5 separate regions of the Homo sapiens genome follow, and regions 1, 2, 4 and 5 are each linked to region 3. The links are contacts of gene promoters, found by promoter capture Hi-C in human tissues and cell types (Jung and others, 2019). All regions are on one chromosome and are shown on one strand. The core of a region is centred on a gene start or on the middle of the fragment in contact, and the rest is flanking DNA. Distances in the headings are between cores, read along the strand shown. Region 1 overlaps TRDN (triadin). Region 2 overlaps NKAIN2 (sodium/potassium transporting ATPase interacting 2). Region 3 holds the start of NKAIN2 (sodium/potassium transporting ATPase interacting 2). Region 4 overlaps NKAIN2 (sodium/potassium transporting ATPase interacting 2). Region 5 overlaps NKAIN2 (sodium/potassium transporting ATPase interacting 2).

Region 1 (2,799 bases), core at 1-2,500, 410 kb after region 3:
AAGCTTCTGAAACCAAACAAGGGACTGTAAAAATTGCAGCACAAGGTAAGCAATAAAACACTTTAAAAAGCATTGCCTTTTTTTAAACATCTATAGCACTTTATTGACAAAAGCAAAAGCTGTTTATTGCAGAATAGCACCATCTGCTGGGATATTGCAAAAAAAATATTGTTGAATGAAAATACACAGTTCAAGTATTTATTTAGTAATTGGAGCAAGCATGACTGAGAGTAATGCCAAATTTGCAGAGGAACTGCTGAAGGACCCAAGAACTAGTCTTGGCTCCAAGTTTCAGTATTTGAGCTTTATGTATATTTTTAAAAATAATCCATTGATGTGCATAAAGAAATACAAATACAGATATAAAATAATGTACACTTTTCTATAATTTTCAGTATACCTTGTAATTTATGTTACATGAGAAGATCAGAATGTTATTAAAGCAATATTACTTCATAAACATCAAAACTGTAAAAATGGGGTTCCAGATATGGCTACAAAATAATTATCCTATTTTTATGAGCCATCTAAGAAAATTAATTTCACCATTTACAAATATCTTCAGGATAACTAAAGTGGTTTCGTCTCACACCATGAGGATTAATTTGATGAAAGCATGAGGGAAGGGTTCAAGTGTTCTGCCTTTGTTATGTGGCAAAACTTTATGGAACACACTTAGAAAATAAAAGATACAATGTTTACTGGAGAAGATCTTTATCATCTCTTCTATGCTAGATTATATAATATCAAGCAATAAAGGAGATGCACATAGGTGGTGGTACAATTTTCAGGGGTAGAAGGCTCTCATAGCAGACTTCTTAGCACATCACATGATGTATGACCGAATGTATTACATCTGAGCAAAATTTTTCTCTTGTATTTAATCTTGGACCCAGCAACATGCAGAATCACCCCCGAAAATATTGGTAACATGGGTTTGTTAAATGCCATTTGACTCGAGGATGTTGTCTGTGAGCAAAATAAGCTAGAATGATTAAAAGCTATGATACCAGTTTTTAGTTTTCACATTGAAAAACTTGTTTTTCTTTAGGAAAGTTCTGATAGGGAATATAGTAAATATTATGAACGATAGAAAGGCAGGACAAATATTATTACCTTTGGTTTTTTAATACATGAAAATGCAGGTCAGGGTGAGTTCCTCAAGCCAATGACTACCAGTTTAAGAAATCATTGCTATTAGTGTATATATGTTTTCATAGAAAACCACAATCACCTTAGGCTCATTCTGTTTGACTGAGACTTCTGAGGACCATAGTGTAGATGTGGAACTACGACTTGAGGCAAGAATTTTGTGTTAGTTACTTCAGCCTCATGTTAGAGGCATTCATGAGGAGGAAAATGAAGAGATATCTGAAAATTTGATTCATATTTGAGCTTGAGGCCATGGGCTCTTTAAACTACATTTAACCATTCAAGATTTAAACTACATTGGACAAGTCAACCTTAGAGCTTATCATTTTGGAATAAAATATTTATTTTTGAGGAAATAGTAACCAAGAGTTTCAAAGTCTTGTTAGAATTATCCTTGGAAGGAAATTGGATGAAAAGATTGATGAAGCACAGTGAACAAGGCAAGAGTGAGGTATTCTGTGTATGCGTTTACTAAAATAAAAATGACACACCAATGCAGGGACACATCAAAGCAGAACTGCATATCATTCGCGTCTTTGCAAATCCTCCATAGATCTTTCTTAGATATGTTTATTTTAATGCCATAGGCATATAATTAAATTATGCATATAAATAATTAATATTTGCAAGTACTTCACGTGGAGACAAAACTTAAAATTGGCAATAATCCTATAGTAGACTGATTTTTTGAAGTATAAAGTGACAAAATTGATCATGATCTTTGTGGCATGGTAAAAGGCTAGATTAGATCTGTTCATTTATTTATTTTTAACTTTTACAACAAAGGACATATTAAAAATCTGGCTTTCCATACATATGTATGTATATATGTTCATATTTATTTATAACTATTATTAAGATTTAGCATATATTCTTTGGAATTTTAAAATAATTTAAGGAAATTATTTTAACAAAGTTTTGAGACACTGAGGAGGCAACAAAATAAATATCTCACTACTACAGGAAATTCCAATTTGGAGATCTAAGAAATTTAGGTAGATATAAGGAATGGCTTTTGTTTCTATTAAGACATGAGACAATAACCTCAACTAGGATGGTGGCAATGACATAAGAAAAAAAGCACAAATGTCATTAACATTTTGAAGAACTAATATCTGATAGAGTATATCAAAAGAAACAAAGGAAAGAATAAAAATGATACTGAGCTTTGGAAACTGGGTAATTAGGAGATGGTAATTGTTAAAAATATTAAGTTTCAGGGGAAGAAACTAGCTGAAGGGAAAAAACTAGCTGAAGGGAAAAGATGATTCATTCTTCAGTGGATGAATGTTGAGCAAAAGTAAAATAATTGGACAATAATTTTTTTGGAGCCAATTAGAATTTAGATGGGGGATCAATCTAGTTCACAGGTATTACATAAAAAATTGTTGGAAGAAATTGATATAGACCCAAATTGGAAAGGAAGGAGAGAGATGGGGAATTATTTTTTTAATCAGTTAGGTGCAATGATGAGGTAGACACCTAGTGATATTAAAATGCCAAAGAGAGAACACATGCCGTAATGGAACTCGGCTTAAAAGATGGGGTATGTGCACTCTGTGTTAGTGTATTTCCACTGGCTTTTTTCTTCTGGATTCCTGAAGCAAACATTAAGAATCTCCTGGATACTATAGGAAGAACACAGAA
Region 2 (2,795 bases), core at 138-2,637, 260 kb before region 3:
TGAGCCATGCTCGTGCCACTGCATTCCAGCCTGGGCAACAGAGTGAGATCCTGTCTCAAAATAACAACAACAATAACAACAACAAAAACTGAAATCAGCTATTCCTGGAACTCTATTCTAGGGAAATATAAAATATTTTTGAGACATAAGCAAATGCGCAGACATGAAGCTACTCATTGTCACAATATTTATAATATCAACAAAATGTCCTATACTGGGGGTTTATATAACAATAAATGGTATTTCCATCATTAAGAAGGTATGCTAAAACATTATGTTCTTAATCTTAAACACTATATTAAATATACAAAACAATGTAGGCCATAAACTTAATTGAAAAAAATAGGTTAGCAAATTTCACGTTTATACTTAAGTTTTTATTTATATTTACGTATCATTGTAATGAACAAGCCTACTTGAGCAACAGATTGAAAGAAACGGTTTTAAAAGTATAACATTGGTTTTATTTGGTTGGTAGAAAAATGTTCCCATTGCTAAAGATATCTCAGTTTCTGCACCACGTTTGTGTTAAAACACACATTCTTTTTCTTTGTTATTTTCTCCATTCTCTTATCTCTAGCTCTACTTTGCTCATCTTAAGAATGATAAATCAATGAAGAACATTTTTTAAAGGGCAAGGATTAATTACAGATATCATTTCTAAGTTTTCTTACGTGAAAAAGTATTTTTTAAAAGCTCTGGAGATTACTATTTTTGATGTGTATTTGTGGACTCACTTCTGAGATTTTCATACTAGATCTCTTCTTTGGTATGGCTTATTGTCAAAGGTTGCTAAGCAGTATGAGTACTCTAAAAACAGACAGTGCTTAGGGGTAGTGCATCCCCCAATGTTTAAATCACCTTTAAAAATTGTTAAAACATGACAGGATCAAAAGGGTAGAGAGGGAAGGAATATTTGAACAGTTCTGCATTTACTCTCTTTGAATACCAAGACTTCTTGCCTTTTCATAAGACACTCATAGTGTAAGAAAGTTTCCATCATTTAAATTACATCTCAAATGGAATCCCCCTACAGAATCACATGCATTGTCTAATTTTTGATAAAAATATAGAGAAAGAGAAAAATTGAAGACTTTTTGAGAAAGTTTTGAAAAGATACCTTGCTTCCCACCTTTCCCATAAAATAGCTGTAAGGGTTAATAAAAAAGATTATATAATAACATTGTAAACTGTTTAGGAGTCAATCATTAAAAACACCTTTGAGAATGTCATTATTACTGAGAATATTTTCCCCAACTCCAGCACATATATGGTGGTGTACTCCTATTTATCTTCAAGATGCATGTGTTATTCAGACTTGCTTTTACAATATCCAAAACATGCTGCAATTTGTGAGCAATCTTAGCCAATCAGAGAAATAAATATTTAAAGCAATTTCCTAAATACTGTATTATTTACTGTCTCTCAGAGATTGGAGCCCTTTGATCAAATCACATGAACACTTATTTTCAACATGTTATACATGCTGAAAGCTTTCTCCTAAACTGCATGTACTTAAAATAAAAAGCCATATTATCATTAATCATTATAGCAATGCTCTTTTTTTATCCATCATTTTTTCTCGTATTGTAGTATTTTTCCATTGCTGGATGACATTTTATTTTTAGTGGCTGAATATTTTTATGCCAAAGCATTTGACAATATCACAGAAAGAACATTGTGTTGCATATTTTCCAATTTTTCTATTGTTTTATATTTTTTAAAGCTGTACCTTAAAGTTTTATAATTAAACACTGACGATGAAATTTAAGTTGTACCTAGTCTGCTAAACTTTACTAGATGAGTAAGCAAACAAGGAAAAAGTTATCCTTTCATGCAATAAATATTCTCTACTATTCAAGGCAATGGATTTATAGCAAATATGTTAAACATGGCAGACATAACTTACATTTTGGCGAACGGTGTTCCAGTTCTGTTTCTGGAAACTGTGAAGTTAAGCTGAACTTCTAAATGTGTACAAAATGGAACACAGGCTTTCTGCTTGTATCTGCTAAGGCTGGATGAGACTTCACTGCCCCAACCTGTGCTTTTTTATGCTTCTCCTCTCTTTTCTATGCAGCTTCAATCCTAGCTGGGTGGAGGACGTGGTATATACAAGAAACTTTTCCTCTTTTCTCAGGCTCTGCAATCAATTGTTAACAACTGCATAGAGGCTAATTTGATTCAGGCTGGTTTACACGTGCTCTGAGAGTGCAAATCAAGCACCTACGAAAATGCCAATAAAATACACCTGTGACTGGCATAGGCCCTAGGCATAACAGGATCAAGGTGTCTCTGAAAGCCAAATGTGATTGTGATTGTCTCTTCTGATGCTTGGTCCATTAGCCCACACAGCAGTGGAGTTAACCATACTCCTCATTCAGGGATATTTCTCGAGAGCACATCCTTGCCTGCTCTGATGTTGTACTAAGTACAAAGAAATACAGTTTAAAAGATATGGCCTCTGCCCACAAGTAGTTCATACTCGAACTTTGGAAACACTCATAGACAAAAAAATTGAAAACAATGCAGCATAAGCTACAAGGAAACTATTTGTTTCACAAGGTACTCTGCTTCTCCATTATATGAAGAATATAAAATAATGAACACCATGACAGAAAAGGGCTGCTTAGCTCTAGACACAAATAAGCAAAGATAATAGGAGCAAAATGTGAAAATGGGAGGAAAAAAACAAAGAGATGTCACATTCTGTACCCAGAGAGTCCATTTAGAGCAGAGATCAAGACTAAAATTTGTATGAATGCTGAACTGCCAACCTAGAGCCAAAGACCAAA
Region 3 (2,896 bases), core at 317-2,816:
CAGCTAAATATTAAACAAAGCAGCAATAACTAACACTCATGGGCTTCACGACAACTGATAAACAAGAACACTTAAGGAATTCCTCTGCCAGTTTCAATGGCAAATCCTTGCTCTTTTGAACACTTTACTGATTGGACACTTAAACATCTTCTGCCTTGTAGTCACTTCAACCTTTATGAAACAGTTGTTGAAAACGGACATGACTATTCCAGTTAATTTATACTTTCTAAGGAAATATATTTAATGACAAGTGTGAGCAAGTAGCTCCTACCTCAAATTAACCACTTAGAGTGGTGTATTTTTCACCTCTCAACTCTCTACTCAGACCCTCCTTCCATTGCCCTTAGGGAATTGAAATTCAGAGACATGACGTTTTCCATTATTGGTTCCTTGCCCCTTTGCAACTGTACAACATTCCTCAAAAAGTACATAGAATTCTCCATCCTATAGGATCAGACAACAGTATCTATTTCAGGAGCAATAATATGCATAATGTAAGACAGAATAGTTTTTCTTGGAATTGTCTGTGTTAATTGTGATTTAAAGGTTACTGGTTCCGTCTATGACAATGGTGTTGCTGAGTTCACCTAAGTATTTTTGTTCAATCTGCATACTTTAAAAACTCAATGTGGCTAAAACTCAAACAGTCTAAATTAGACTGTTGTAAGGATACCATGTGCCCTAAACAGTGGTTTTTTTAGAGCATTATACTTAAAGACAACATTTTCCTTAAAAAAAGAAAAAAAACATGTCTATGAAGAAACAAAGATACTGCAAAATTAGTATAGAGAAGAAAAGTCCAAAATTCCGTATTCCTCTGTTTAACAACCTGTACGGTAAATTGTAGGTGACAATCACGTTGTTACATGAATAGGAATGCAAAGCATAAAGAACAAGAGCTACATCTTGCTTTTCCTAAAGAAATTAAAGACAAGTTTAACCCGCACCTGCCAAACTGTCTTAAAAGGGACAGAAATAGGTGGGAACGGAAAGGCTCACCTCTCCTGTACCCCAGAGTGCGTCTCCCTGAAATCATCTTCAATATAGGCAATATATCTGTCACCTTCTCTTTTATCTTTTTCGTCCATTCTAGTCAATGGCAGACCCTTTGCTGCACTCCCCTGCCCACTATCTCAAAGACACATTACAGAATAAGGGGACCCAAGTGTCACTTACCAGTTGCATGCCACAGATAAAGATAAGCGTGCACCTGCCACTGCAATAACCCATGGTTTCCGAGACCCCTGCCACAGCCAGACTGTCCCACGTCGGCCACCGTCGAGCCCCCACTTTATCCAATCAGATCGCGGGGAAGGACACGCAAACCTGCCGAGGGCTCGGGGGCTCCGGGCTGCTGCTGCTGCCAGCGTCCTGGGAAGTGACAGGCATTAGGACCTGCTGGCGCGGCGGCGGCGGCGGCGGCAGCTCCAGCCGCGCCCGCCACACATACCTTCACTCGCTCGGTGCACACGCCGCGCCGCGGGCAGTGCCGCCTGCGGAGGCGCGCTCGGGGCCCGCAGGGGCAGCAGCGGCAGCCTGGCAGCGCCGCCGCGCCCTCGGGCATCTGGCCCGCGAAGTTTCGCCCCTGCCGCTCTCCGCGCCGCTCGCCTCACGCCCCCCAGCGCGGCCGCCGCCCGACGCGCGCTCGCCCTGCGCTCGCCGCGCGCCGGCTCCGGGGGCGGCAGAAGCGCGCGAGGGCCGCTGCCCGCCTCCCTGCGCAGCCCGCGGCTCCTAGGCACCCTGCGTTGCTGGGCCCGGCGGGCGGGGGTGGGGCGGGGAGCGGGGCGCGGGCCGAGCGGGGGCGTCCCGGCTCCGCGGTCCCCGGCGGCTGCTGCAGCGGCTGCTGCGCGCAATGATGCGGGTCCGCGCCGCGTCCCAGCAGCGGCGCTGCCCCTCCCTTCGCCCAGATGTGTGAATCCTCCTCCTACAACAAATCCTTCATCCTGCTCCCTGCCGCCCCCTCCCAGGGGGCCAACTTTGAGGACCGCAGGGGCTGCCGCCCAGGCGGCCGCAGGCGGCGGTGTCTAGGCGGAAAGGAGCGGCGCGAAAGCGGCGGCGGCGGGGACCGGGGCCTCGGGGCGAGGAGTCTGGGCGGCATGACCGCGGTTTGCTGAGCTGAAGTCGGTCGTGCTCCCAGAGCCACTCCGCGGGAGCGAACCGAGTGTGTGTGTGCGCGCGCGCTCGGGGGAGAAGGGACCAAGAGGAGGGTTAGGGAAGGAAGCTGGGGTCATGGAACAGGGGTGCAACCGAGGCATCCAGAGCGGCCGGAAAGCCCGAGTGGCGGAGAGGCCAGAGGTGGCGAGAAGGGGCGCGGCGGCACCGGACGCACCGCCCAGCACCTGGCTCCCCTGGGCTCCCGAGGATCTGAAGGGTCGGAGCGCGGAGAGCTACGGAGCCGACCCTGCTTGGGGAAGGGGACCGAGTTGCTGCTGGAGTTGGGAAAAATTAGCAACCGGAGGGAATAGGGATGCAATGAGTTGCTGTTGCTGCTTCAAACTGTTGTTTGTTTTCACTTAAAATACTAAAGAGTCGGAGACTAGTTTAATACTCAGTTACTTCAGCTTCACAGCAGTCCCAGCTGGGTGTGGATTCCTAGTGGAGATGCACCAGCCTCCGCTGAGCACCGGCCTGAAAGCTGTGAAGCGGCTGCTACCTGCAGAGACAGGCTTCGGAGCCCGCTGCTGCCACCTGCGGGCGGAAAGCTGAAGGGCGCAACATGCTGGCCCAAGTGGCTGCCCCTGGGGCGTGGATATTTAGGACCAAGTTTCCTTTTTAGCCCTGGCAGCTAAGGAAAGCAATCCTAACTTTTCCAGGAAGTGAAGATTATTTGTTGAGATCCACTGAGGAACTGACTCATTGGGGTGAAGTGTCGCGATTGATAAGAGGATGGTTTAGG
Region 4 (2,700 bases), core at 96-2,595, 280 kb before region 3:
TAACATCAGATGCAGTCCTTGCCAATAATTTATAGTCCAAAACTCAGCTCAGGTCTCCCTTCCCTTCCTGTTGCCCACCACCATGCTATGGTTTCCATCATGCCACCCATGCGCCAAGTTTCTAGGCTTGGGTTATTTACCTGTTTCTTTCAGTTCCTAAAATACCCTTCCCATCACATTATTCACTATCTGTATTGGCTTTATTTCTCTCTCTACCTTAAGGGCAGGGGTGGATTGAATTTACTCCTTTGTTCTATTGAATACCTGCAATCTTAATAAAGCTCAGCAAGACACTGAAGAGGATAGACTTTTAATTTAATGATTGTTGCTAAGAATATTTAACATAATATGTAATTGTATGTGATCCAACTCACAAACTTAATACTTTTGGCCTCTTTTTCTCCATCTTGTAATAAGACATGTTTTAACTGGATTGCCTAAAGTAAATTCTGGCACTAATAAGTCTATGGTGTATTGCAAATTGGCCTTGAAAAGTCAGAATTTTGATTCCCAATATTTTCAATAAGCACTATAGTATATTTTAATATTTACTCTATTTCATGACTCTGCTAGAAAATTCAACTAAACTTTAATATCCTTTACTGAAAGTAATAAGCAAGTGTTTTTCTCCTCTTAACATTCTTTTGCAAAATGTATCTGGTAGAGAAAACAGCATTTATGAGTAATTACCAAGCATTATACATAAGAACTTTATTTAGACATTCTAAAGATAATACCATTCAATTCTAGTAAAGAGGAGAAACAGAATATGTTATGTAAAAATGAATGCAAATTTTATGTAAAACCTAAGTGAATGAAACATAAAAATTCTGGTAAACTAGTAATATAACCTTATTTCAAAATGTCTTATTTGATTTCAACAATCACACACAAATAAAATTGGTCTCATTACTAAACAGAAATACCATGTTTTATATTTTCTGCAGTTTGACAAACATTAATAGATTGATTTGAAATTTATGCATATGAATAACTAAAATTAGGATTAACTAAAATAAGAACTAAAACTCCTCAGTCATCAAGAATTCCTGTGGCAGACAAAAATCTTTAAAAGTTCCAAGTAAAAACTGCATAGAGGAAAGTCAATATGCAATATAAATCTTTTAATATAGGATTAAACGACTCTTTTTTAAGACTAGGAACTTTATTTTTATGTTATCTATACCTTCATATGCCAATGAATAAATAAATGTTTGAAACTAACTGCCCTGAAATCAATTTTTATTACTATGGTGGGATTTATACCTATGCAGGCGAGTTAGTTTATCATCAATAATTTAGTCTACAAGGACTCCTGATTTCTCTGAAGTTTCTGGTAATATGACATGGTATTAGATAAAGTGTTAGAAATTTGTAACACCAGGATGTTTGTTTCAAACATATTTTTCCCATTTATAGAAATACAGGAAAGAAGGAAGAGGATATAAAAGGCCTTCTATAAAGATCTTGGAGGGGGGGAGTGTTTTTGCTAGTAGTCGTGTGTGTTTGTGTGCAGAGCTAGATTCAATCAGGGAGGGCCATAAAGTTAAAGTGCTAATTATCCTCAGTTTATTTTCTTCCTTTTCCTTTTCCTTTTAATTGGGAAATGTAGTTGGTACAATGTTTTTTGGTCTAATATAAACTCAAGGGATTATTACAAACAACATTAGCAACAGTCTATATGTATATTATATATAAAATGGAAAATTGATAAAAAATATTTAAGACACACAAGCAAGAATTAGTAAAATGAAACTGTGAGACCTGTGACATTCAAATCTTTAAAAATATCTCTGACAATCAAAATGATTTAAGTAAGAAAACAATGAAAACTGTAACTCACGTATATTGAGACTGATAGATCCAGAAGAAACTGCAAGAGGCTAACTCAATTCTAACATTCTAGCTTCTAGGAACAAGACAGCCTTTTGTCTAAGATCTTGAATAACTGAGCAAATACCTCTGGCAAATTGTACTGTATCTTCCCCTTACAGAAGTAGAGTCCCAAGGAGAGATGGGAAAATATATTAGCCTAGGTAAACTCAGACAAGACGCCCAGTGTAGGAAACCACCCTGGAAGCCTGATTCTCAGGGCTGCTGAGCGAGACCTGTTGTCCCAGCTTTTTTATCAGTCAGACTCCCATGGGCGTTAATCTATATTTCACACATCCTTAATCTTTTGATGCCCAAGCTTCCTTTCCCATCTAGGTCTACAATCTACTTCCTCCCACCCACCATTTCTCTCTGAGGACAAAGTTTTTTCCCTTTTTTTTTTTTCCATCCAAATGCCACCCCCCAACCCCACCCTTTCTTTCCTTTCTGCCCACTACCTTTAACTTTACCTTTGTTCGCTCAGTGACACAAGAAAGGCAGGTTTCCTGTGTTTCGGGAGACTGTCACTATAAGGTAAATTATGCTTTTGCTAATACTCCCTAGTGCTACAGGCTTAGCAAAATAAATGGCATGCCCAGAACAAGAAGTTTTAAACTGACACAGCCTGTGATCTGTTTACATGCCAACTTAGTGGAATTCCTAAGCAGAAAGAGGAAAAAAGGAGGATAGCTAAAAGTCGGTAAAGCATATCTTGCTTCAGCTAAATGAAATACTAGAATACTGTTAATTTCTTCAATTGATCACCTTATTATCAAAGGCTATAAATACTTTTAAAGTTATAATGTATCCTTGTTTCTCTCTCAAACT
Region 5 (2,700 bases), core at 93-2,592, 510 kb before region 3:
TGTGCTCCTTCCCCCACACCCTGCCTTTTGCATCTCTTCATCTGTATTCTTTGTAATATTCTTTTTATAATAAACTGGTAAATGTAAGTATTTCCCTGAACTGTCCTAGCAGGTTAATCTAACCCAAAGAGGGGTTATGAGAACCCAACTGAAAGCAGGTCTGTCAGAAGTTCCAGAGGCCTGGACATGCAACTGGTGTCTGAAGGGGGTGCAGTTTTCTGGGACTGAGTCTCAACCTGTGGGATCTGACGCTATCTCCAGGTAGAGTGTCAGAACTGAATTGGAAGACAGCTAGCTGGTGTCTGCAGCAGAATAGACTTCTTGCTTGCTGGTGGGGAGAAATCTCTGCACATTAAGTCACAGAAGTCTTCAATGCTGATTGTTGTGGTGTAAAGTTTGTGTTTTTTTCACTCACACTGACACAGAAGGAAGGATGACCATAGCATAGCATTGAGTTAAAAAGAGAAAGCGATGCTAAATACTCCCATGTATGCAAATAAAAAGTGTGTGATTTTATGTTTGCATAGGTTTTCTCTATTTATATACCTCTTTCTCTCTCCCCAAAGTTTACAACTGGAGGTTGACAGGGGTTAGAATTAGAGGTTAACAGTGGTCAATCCTGTTAACCACTACTTACTAGTAGTTATTGGGAGTAAAGGAGAGTACATTTTTGCTTTATCTGTGTTGCTTGCATTTTTATACCACATACGTTTAACCTTTGAAAGCTAAAAAATACATATTTTTTATAAACAGGAAAACAAAGTGAAAGGAATAGATTCATCAGACAGGCAATGGTCTCTTTTCTGCAACCAGGTCTCTTAAGACACTAGTGAACATGTTGTGACTTTATAATCACTAACGATACCAATTAAGAATGGGCTCTACTGAGCATGTGAATGCAAATTCAATAAGCAAACGTGCCTCTCACGTTATTAACTCCATCCTGGTCATGTTCCTCCCTATTTGCGTTTTGCTTCCTGCTTACATTTGTTTTCACATAAGTAAACGTAGTAGATGTAATCTTTAGAAACTGACTTATTTGAAATTTCCTATTTTTAAAACGTGAAAAGCAAATCTATGATTTTTCCATGGTGGCAGTGGATATATAAATATTTTCAGGGTGGCCCAGAAGCATATCCACACAATGGAAGCATGTGAGCGCATGGCCACAGGGTGGTTTGTACAAGTGGGGAAACTTTGCTGGGTCCATAATCCTATTAAATGCGGAGAGTTTGTGGCATTTTCCTCCTTGTGTATTTTCAAATGGGATATAGTAGTCTTATCTGTTTATAATTGCTAATATTTTATCTTGTCCAAAATTAGGGCTTCTCAGTATTGTCCAACTCTGCAGACTTGCTCTGAAGACCCTGCTCTGGACTGAGGATGGGGGTCACAGTGGAAGTGTGGGCCTTTGTCCCCTCTTTCTGCTTTCACTGAGTATCTTCACTGTTCTTTGCTCTACATATTAAAATCTCTCCTAATAAGTTGATGAAAAGGGAAATCAGGTGTTCAAACTTTGAAAATTGTGGCTTTAGACCCAGAATTTTACTTACGGAAGGAAATTTGAAAGTCTTCAAACAACTTTAGTTAGGAATGAACAAAATTAGTTTTGTTTCTTTATTAATGAGTGATTTTGTTCACAGATTTTTAGTTGCAAACACTGTGAAACCAACACCGGGACCAAAGCTTTTAACTCTCAGATCAGTGTGCTTCCACCTTACCACGCTGCCTTCCTTTTGCTGCTAATCTCATTGTTAGTATCACTTCTAGCTTTCAGGGCCTGGGATTCTGAACATATCTGGTCAAACTAATTGTGAGAGGAATTCGCTGGCAATCTAAGAATCAAGATCATAATTATTCACTAACATCACCTCTGACTTCAGTGGAGATTCGGGTCATATTTGGCAGAACAGCTACTTTCGGCTTTCAGTTAATTTCTGAATGAATCTACTTATCCTGTAAGAAGTGCATGGTATGTTTCAAATTCATTGTAGGTTCCTAACGTCCTCCAAGGGACAGTAATATTTTTTAGTTCATCCTAACAAATCACAACCCAGGGAGGTACATTTAGTTTTTCTGTGAGCTGTAGATACATAAAAAAAGAAAAAAAAATCTGTAGCCCACATTCTGTTTGTTAAAACATGTAATGCATTTCAAATATTAACTTTCTAACTATGATTTCAGAAAGATCATTAAAGTCTTTGTCTTAAGGAATGAAAATCTCTTATTACTAATGATGTGTCAGCAATACCATTCTATGCAGGCATGGCAATACAAGGCACTTATAATGCAGCTGCACAAATAATAAAAATAAAATTACAAAAAAAAATCTACATAAATGAAAGTACTAACATAACTATATATATCATCTTCTATTCCCATGTTAACAATACTAAAACAGCTATGTGCTTTTCAATGCATTTTTCTTCATTTTTCTTCGTGGTTTGATCTCATTTTAGTATTTCATCAGTTGTGTGCTTTTATGATAAACATTTCGGGACATCTATTCCCACCAAGCTCCATTTATCTGAAAGAACTTAGTTTCTGTGAAACACAGGTATTTCAAGTCTGACCTATGTATGGAAATAAGCTGAACTAAGTAATTTTACCTCTTTTACTATTGTTTGAGGTCTTAAGTCCCAAGAGTGAGAATGAAGGTGAGAAGACTGGCAAAAGGTAAAGGTGAAGGAGAGAGAAGGG

What was found. Contacts are between HindIII fragments. The study calls those that stand out against the background at their distance.
Region 1: a fragment that was not itself captured here is called in contact with the fragment with the promoter of NKAIN2 in region 3 in 1 of the 25 tissues and cell types used here (dorsolateral prefrontal cortex).
Region 2: a fragment that was not itself captured here is called in contact with the fragment with the promoter of NKAIN2 in region 3 in 3 of the 25 tissues and cell types used here (dorsolateral prefrontal cortex, hippocampus and lymphoblastoid cells).
Region 4: a fragment that was not itself captured here is called in contact with the fragment with the promoter of NKAIN2 in region 3 in 1 of the 25 tissues and cell types used here (hippocampus).
Region 5: a contact is called between a fragment that was not itself captured here and the fragment with the promoter of NKAIN2 in region 3, in 1 of the 25 tissues and cell types used here (mesenchymal stem cells).

Annotation. Positions count from the first base shown.
Region 1 is chr6:123,390,870-123,393,668 of GRCh38, reverse strand. It overlaps TRDN (triadin), which reads left to right. Exons shown (of 41, transcript NM_006073.4): 13 at 1-45. Among named protein-coding and RNA genes, the nearest start is that of TRDN-AS1, 47 kb to the left of the region's middle. The HindIII fragment of the contact is 3,038 bases long and covers 1-2,769 here.
Region 2 is chr6:124,059,709-124,062,503 of GRCh38, reverse strand. The region is part of intron 1 of NKAIN2 (sodium/potassium transporting ATPase interacting 2); the gene reads right to left. Among named protein-coding and RNA genes, the nearest start is that of NKAIN2, 260 kb to the right of the region's middle. The HindIII fragment of the contact is 5,490 bases long and covers 1-2,795 here.
Region 3 is chr6:123,802,535-123,805,430 of GRCh38, reverse strand. NKAIN2 (sodium/potassium transporting ATPase interacting 2) reads right to left here and starts at 1,566. Exons shown (of 7, transcript NM_001040214.3): 1 at 1,177-1,566. The coding sequence starts at 1,230. RefSeq lists an enhancer at 2,761-2,810. The HindIII fragment of the contact is 12,261 bases long and covers 1-2,896 here.
Region 4 is chr6:124,079,518-124,082,217 of GRCh38, reverse strand. The region is part of intron 1 of NKAIN2 (sodium/potassium transporting ATPase interacting 2); the gene reads right to left. Among named protein-coding and RNA genes, the nearest start is that of NKAIN2, 280 kb to the right of the region's middle. The HindIII fragment of the contact is 5,382 bases long and covers 1-2,700 here.
Region 5 is chr6:124,309,882-124,312,581 of GRCh38, reverse strand. All of the region lies in intron 2 of NKAIN2 (sodium/potassium transporting ATPase interacting 2), which reads right to left. Among named protein-coding and RNA genes, the nearest start is that of NKAIN2, 510 kb to the right of the region's middle. The HindIII fragment of the contact is 5,652 bases long and covers 1-2,700 here.